2 separate regions of the Homo sapiens genome follow, and region 1 is linked to region 2. The links are contacts of gene promoters, found by promoter capture Hi-C in blood cells and fetal thymus (Javierre and others, 2016). All regions are on one chromosome and are shown on one strand. Each heading gives the region's core, a stretch centred on a gene start or on the middle of the fragment in contact. The rest is flanking DNA. Distances are from core to core; before and after follow the strand shown. Region 1 overlaps HTT (huntingtin). Region 2 holds the start of TNIP2 (TNFAIP3 interacting protein 2).

Evidence for each region. Contacts are between HindIII fragments. The CHiCAGO score rates a contact against its expected background, and 5 or more counts as called.
Region 1: a fragment that was not itself captured here is called in contact with the fragment with the promoter of TNIP2 in region 2 in 1 of 17 cell types (naive B cells); the score reaches 5.0 in naive B cells.

The regions. Positions count from the first base shown.
Region 1 is chr4:3,101,088-3,104,309 of GRCh38, reverse strand. HTT (huntingtin) reads right to left here. Exons shown (of 67, transcript NM_001388492.1): 4 at 427-486. Among named protein-coding and RNA genes, the nearest start is that of HTT, 28 kb to the right of the region's middle. The HindIII fragment of the contact is 222 bases long and covers 1,723-1,944 here.
Region 2 is chr4:2,754,301-2,757,590 of GRCh38, reverse strand. TNIP2 (TNFAIP3 interacting protein 2) reads left to right here and starts at 1,255. Exons shown (of 6, transcript NM_024309.4): 1 at 1,255-1,577. The coding sequence starts at 1,302. RefSeq lists silencers at 793-932, 1,113-1,632, 1,653-1,712. The HindIII fragment of the contact is 7,310 bases long and covers 23-3,290 here.

The DNA of each region.
Region 1 (3,222 bases), core at 584-3,083, 350 kb before region 2:
ATGTACAATCAGGCCCGGCACAGTGGCTCACGCCTGTAATCCCAACACTTTGGGAGGCCGAGGCGGGCGGATCACCTGAGGTCAGGAGTTTGAGACCAGCCCAAAGTTCGGTTGAACCCGGGAGGCGGAGGTTGCAGTGAGCCAAGGTCATGCCACTGTACTCTAGCATGGGTGAAAGCAAGACTCTGTCTCAAAAATAAAATAAAATAAGTAAAGCATGTAACTGGATTGTTTGTAACACAAAGGATAAATGCTTGAGGGCATGGATATCCAACTTTCCATGGTGTGATTATTATGTATTGTATACCTGTATCAAAATATCTCATGTACCCCATAAATATATACATTTACATGTACCTACAAAATACGTGTACCTATAAAAATTTAAAATTTAAAACATTTTTAAAAAAGAAAAGCAAGGCCCACCTTTTTAATTTCCTTATAGAGCTCGAGCTGTAACCTTGGAAGATTAGAATCCATCAAAGCCTACAACAAATCACAAGAGATTTATGGAAGACACATCCCATCACTAGTTCTAAAACGAGCTAAAAGGAAACTAAGATTTCAATTTTGGGGCAAAGCAAAACATAATAGCAACTAAATTAAGAATATATTCATTAAGAATGAAAGAAACAAATATATGCAGGAAGTTACTGAATAAACTAGATACAGGTCATTCACTTAAACAGAAAAATGGAAAGAAAAACAATTTAACTTTCATTATCATCAAATACTACATAACATCAAAATTAAAATGGTAGATGGTTCAAATACAATAAATCCTGGCCAGGTGGGGTGGCTCATGCCTGTAATCCCAGCACTTTGGGAGGCCAAGGCGGGCAGATCACCTGAGGTCAGGAGTTCAAGACCAGCCTGACCAACATGGAGAAACTCCGTCTCTACTAAAAAATACAAAAATTAGCCGGGTGTGGTGGTGGGCGCCTGTAATCCCAGCTACTCGAGAGGCTGAGGCAGGAGAATAGTTTGAACCCGGGAGGCGGAGGTTGCAGTGAGCCAAGATCACGCCATTGCACTCCAGCCTGGGCAACAAGAGCGAAACTCCATCTCAAAAAAAAAAAAAAAAAAAATTATATATATAGGATTTATATATATATAATAAATCCTAAAGCCCCTGGAGTAAATCTTTAATCTTCACTAGCAGAACATTCTGTTGGATGATACGGGCTCAGACGGCACCCTGGACATCTGCAGGGTCCCGAGCACTGTGGGTGTACTTATAAACCACAGACCCTCGCTCTGGCCTAGAACACTTCCCAAGGCGGAGTCCTGCATCCTTTTCTGCAGGTGTGGCCCCTCCTCACTGTCAGGTATGCCCGTGGTCCCTGCCCCCCTGACCCAGAGCCTGCTGCCAGCTGGGGCCCCACATTCCTCACAGCACATCTCTCAACCCTCCTTGCTCACTTGTGAGGCTAAACCAGAAAGTACGTCCAGATGGTCAACTTCAAGCTAGTAACGATGCTAACGGCACAAAGTCCACATTAGAGAAGGGCTTCTCAAGCTAGGGGATGGGACAGGGAAGACTTTGGTGCCCCACTCTCACCCATAGGAGCCTTCTCTTCCAAATGCTTGCCCACCCAAGAGGGAGGAAGCTGTGCCAAACATCAGTCGATGATCTCTTTAACCGTGGCATGGGCAGTTGATGTAAGTGGACTGAGATGGTCTTCGTAAAACTTGTGGGTTAACCTATTGGGTCAGCAAGCTTGAAAATCAAAACCAGATCACATTCTGGGAAATTCTGAGGAGTAAAAACATCTCAGAAACGTTTAAATCCTAATCCTGTTGTTGCAGTTTGTACTGAAAGTCCTTAAATGAGCAAAGCGAATTGGACAAACATTTATTTCAACATTACTTCTTAAATAAAACTAGAAGCCTTATCAAACCTTGATTTAGCTTTACAAATGTTTTGTAAACAAATACCAAGCTTATTGTATAACAAGAGAAAACTAAAACTCAGCCCCTCCTAAGAGCAGGGAATGGTCTCTCACAATCTACGCCAGTCGCTGGGTGATGGCAGCACGCTGCTGGCCTCTTCCCTCTTGCCCCTGCTTCCGCAGACACACAGGTGGCTGCCTCTCCTCACAGCCCTGCCACCATCCTGGCTCGAGGCCCTGCACTCCTGCTGGGTCTACTCACTCCCACCTGGACTCCCTCCCACCTGTCCTCCTCTACCCCACGTCCTCACCGGGTCACTCTTCCTAAATGATACACTCCCCTGACCACATCCAAAGTCTTCAAGAGCCCCTAATTCTCTACCAAACAAGGTACAACCCCTTGACCTGACCCTCATGGTGTCCCACTCTCTGGCAGCATAAGATGGGTTCAGCCTCCACAGCTTCCTGGCACCCCTTGAGACAAGAGGCGGTGATGATTAAGAAGGTCTCCAATCTACTCTTTCACCTACTGGCTGCTGACTCCAGGAAGCCTTTCCTGCCTCCCTAGACAAAAATCACTTCAGCCTCTTGACGGTGGTGGTGATTTGCCAGCACCTCACAGAACGGAGACTTTATGCCACATATGAAGTTCTTGCTGGACACACGTGCTTCACCGCCTGAGACTAACCTACCTGAGGGAGGCATGCTGCCAGGCTATGTCAGATACCCAGTGCATTTCTCTACAGAAACCACATGCAAAATGTGCCCATTTTCTTGGGCTAAGTAGAACCTAGTTTTCACCATACACACACAGCCATACTCATGAGAAGACAAAGTCTAGGACCTGAAGGCTACGTGACCATGCCTATGCTCCCTACAGCTGGCCTGGGGTCACACGTGCTCTCCCACGCCTCCCCCTACTCTGCCACAGTGAGAGCAAACCTAGCCAGATCCTGATCCCGCTGCCAGCCCGCTGGGCCTGACAACTACAGCATCTGAGGAAGCAGGAATCTGAGAGCAGCCAAACCCTGCTGCACCAAACTTAAGCATAAGGGAGAAATGGCTGGAAACAAAGAAGAGGACATGGGAAAGAAGCAAGGAGACAGCCAGGAAGAGCACCTGAGACCTAAAACCACAACCTAGGGCCATGGCCTACAGTCCTCAGACACACACCAAGCCACTGTGTCCAGCAATTCCTGGAAAAAAAATGAAGGAGGTTTAAAAAAGAACAATACTTACACATTAAATGACCAATATTAGAACAGTTTCTGTTCATATTCTCTCTGCCCTCTTAACGTCCCATTTGCCATGAACCAAGGCAACCTGGGAT
Region 2 (3,290 bases), core at 6-2,505:
GGCTTGTCTGATTCTACAAGCTTGTGTTTTCCCAGGCTCAGCTCAGGCTTGGCTGTGGATCACATAAGGGAAGAAAGTCAAGAAGCTGCTCAGGGGCGGAGCCTGTGGGCAAGTGCACACACAGGGAAGACCCCTGCCCTATCCTGAGTAGGGAACCTTGGAAAGACCCCATGTGTGCTTGGGCATCATTGTGGGGAAGACTGGGCTGTGGAAAAACACTAGCGTTTGTCTGGGAATTTTGGGGAAGGAAAGGGATGGAAAAGCGAAAGGGTGGGAAGGGGCTGGTTTCCTGCTGCTTCTGCTATATAAGAACAGCATCTAGCAGGAAGGTTGTCCCGTGGGCCCATACTAGCCACCTTACAAAGCAGCGTCTGCAGTGGCTGACGCCTGTAATCCCAGCACTTTGGGAGGCTGAGGCCGGTGGATCTACCTGAGGTCAGGAGTTCAAGACCAGCCTGGCCAACATGGTGAAACACCATCTCTACTAATAATACCAAAAAATTAGCAGGGCATGGTGGCGGGCGCCTGTAATCCCAGCTACTCAGGAGGCTGAGGCAGGAGAATCGCTTGAAACTGGGAGGCGGAGGTTGTAGTGAGCCGAGATCGCGCCATTACACTCCAGCCTGGGCAACAGAGCGAAACTCCGTCTCAAAAAGAAGAAAAAAAAGGAAAGAAAAAAGAAAGCGGCGTGCGGGGCAGGGGGTTGGAGCTCTTTCTGGGCTCAGTGTCCCCAGGTGACGGAACACATGCCACGTGCTTGGTGCGCTGCGAGCTCAGCTCCTGGAGCTTCTGTTGCTGCTGTGGCCGCAAGGCCTGGACCCTCGCGGGGAGATTCAGACCCACACTTAGCTCCAGAGCTTGGGGGTTGTCGTTAAGCCCTTCCTTTCCATCAGAGGCTGATGAATCCCCAAACTCCTGGGCTGAGTTCGACTCTCCGACAACTCCTCAGAGGCGGATGTTTGGGGCCACTGGAATAAGCCCAGCACCAGCTGGGGTGTGGACAGCCTCGGGGGCCAGGCCAACTCTCCCGGACGGGTGCGGACGGCAGGGGCGGGGCCGGGCTGTAGGCGGTGGGAGGGGTGGGGCCGGGCGAGAAGGGGCTGGGCGGGCTGCCGTCGGGCGGGGCTGCGCGGGGAAGGGCGGGGCTGCGCGGGGGGCGGGGCTGCGTGGGGGAGGGCGGGGCCGGGCTGTTGTGGGTGGGCGGGGCGCACCGGGGAAAGTTCCGGGAAGGGCGGCAGCCGGCGGGGCCCGGGCGCGGAAGTTGCCGGCGGCCGCGCGGCCTCCCGGGCGGGCCTACAGCCATGTCCCGGGACCCGGGGTCGGGCGGCTGGGAGGAGGCCCCGCGCGCAGCTGCCGCGCTCTGCACCCTGTACCACGAGGCCGGACAGCGGCTGCGCCGCCTGCAGGACCAGCTCGCTGCCCGCGACGCCCTCATCGCTCGCCTCCGCGCCCGCCTGGCCGCGCTGGAGGGGGACGCCGCGCCGTCCCTAGTGGACGCGCTGCTGGAGCAGGTTGCGCGCTTCCGGGAGCAGCTGCGAAGGCAGGAGGGCGGCGCCGCCGAGGCCCAGATGCGCCAGGTACGAGGGCGGGTACCAGAGGAGCTGCGGGAGCGAGAGTGCGTGTGGCGGCCGCCGGGTCCTGGGTGGGTGAGCGAGCGGGCCCCGGGTCCTGAGGGGTTGAGGGGGTACTGGGTCCTGGGGTTGAGTTGGCCTCGGGTCCTGAGGGGTTGGGGGAGCACCAGGTCCTGGGAGTTGAGGGGGTGCCGGGTCCTGGGGGTGAGGGGGCCCCGGCTCCTGAGGGGTTGGGGGAGCATCAGGTCCTGGGGGTTGAGGGGGTGCCGGGTCCTGGGGTTGAGGGACACTAGGTCCTGGGGGTAAGGGGCCGTCGGGTCCTGGGGGTGATAGGGCAACAGCTTCTGGGGGGTGAGGGGACCCTGGGTCCTAGGGGAGAGAGGGGGACCAGGTCCTGAGTGGGATAAGGGGACACCACGGGCTGAGGTGTGCTGGGTCCTGGGGGGTTTGAGGCGTCACCAGGTGCTGGTGGAGGTGAGGGGGCTCTGGGTCCTGCGGGGTGAGGGTGCAAGGTTCTGAAGGGGATAAGCGAATGCTGGATCCTGGGGGGTTGGGAGGGCACTGGGTCCTGGGGGATGGTGAGGAGGCACTGGGTTCTGAGGAGGGGGGTTGGTGCAGTTCTTGGGTTCTGTGTGTGTGTGGTGTATGTTCAGGTGGGCTCTTAGGGGTATTTTGAGGTTCGTGTGTGGGAACACATTCCGAGGGGGGTGTGTGTATGCTGTGTGTATTCTGTGTGTATTGTGTAGTGTGTATGTTCCGGTTGGTTCTTAGGGGTGTTTTGAGGTGTGTGTGCGGGAGACACATTCTGAGGGGTGTGTATGGTGTGTGTGTGTACGCACACATGTGTGTCTTGGGTCCAAGGTCGTGTACTCATATTGTGTTCTAGAGTCCCTTCCAGCCCTCACCCATGCATGTGTCTTTCACTAGTGGCGCTTCAACTCTATGCTGGGAGCAATGGCAAATGCAGCCCGTGTCTGATAAAGGACACAAATCCTAGGCTGGGTGCAGTGGCTCACGCCTGTAATCCCAGTACTTTCGGAGGCAAGGCGGGCAGATTGCCTGAGCCCAGGAGTTCGAGACAAGGCTGAGCAACATGGTGAAACCCTGTCTACAAAAAGTGCAAAAAATTAGCCGGGCATGGTGGCACGTGCCCGTGCTCCCAGCCACTAGGGAGACTTAGGTGGGAGGATCACTTGAGCCTGGGAGGCAGAGGTTGCAGTGAGCCAAGATCGCACCACTGCACTCCAACCTGGGTGACAAAGTGAGACCTTGTCTGAAAAAATTAAATTAAAAATGGACACAAGGGTCCGGACGCGGTGGCTCATGCCTGTAATCCCAGCACTTTGGGAGGCCAAGGCGGCGGATCACGAGGTCAGGAGATTGAGACCATCCTGGCTAACATGGTGAAAACCCATCTCTACTAAAAATACAAAAAATTAGCTGGGCGTGGTGGCGGGCGCCTGTAGTCCCAGCTACTTGGGAGGCGGAGGCAGGAGAATGGCATGAACCCGGGCGGCGGAGCTTGCAGTGAGCCGAGATTGTGCCACTGCACTCCAGCCTGGGCGACAGAGCGAGACTCCGTCTCAAAAACAAACAAAAAAAGACGCAAATCCTGACTTTCTTCTCTTTGTCCTTGTCTATGATGTTTATGTCTGTTTTTTGATGATAAACTATAACACCACAACAGCAGTATAAGTAACAGTTTTTTTGTGCAATAGT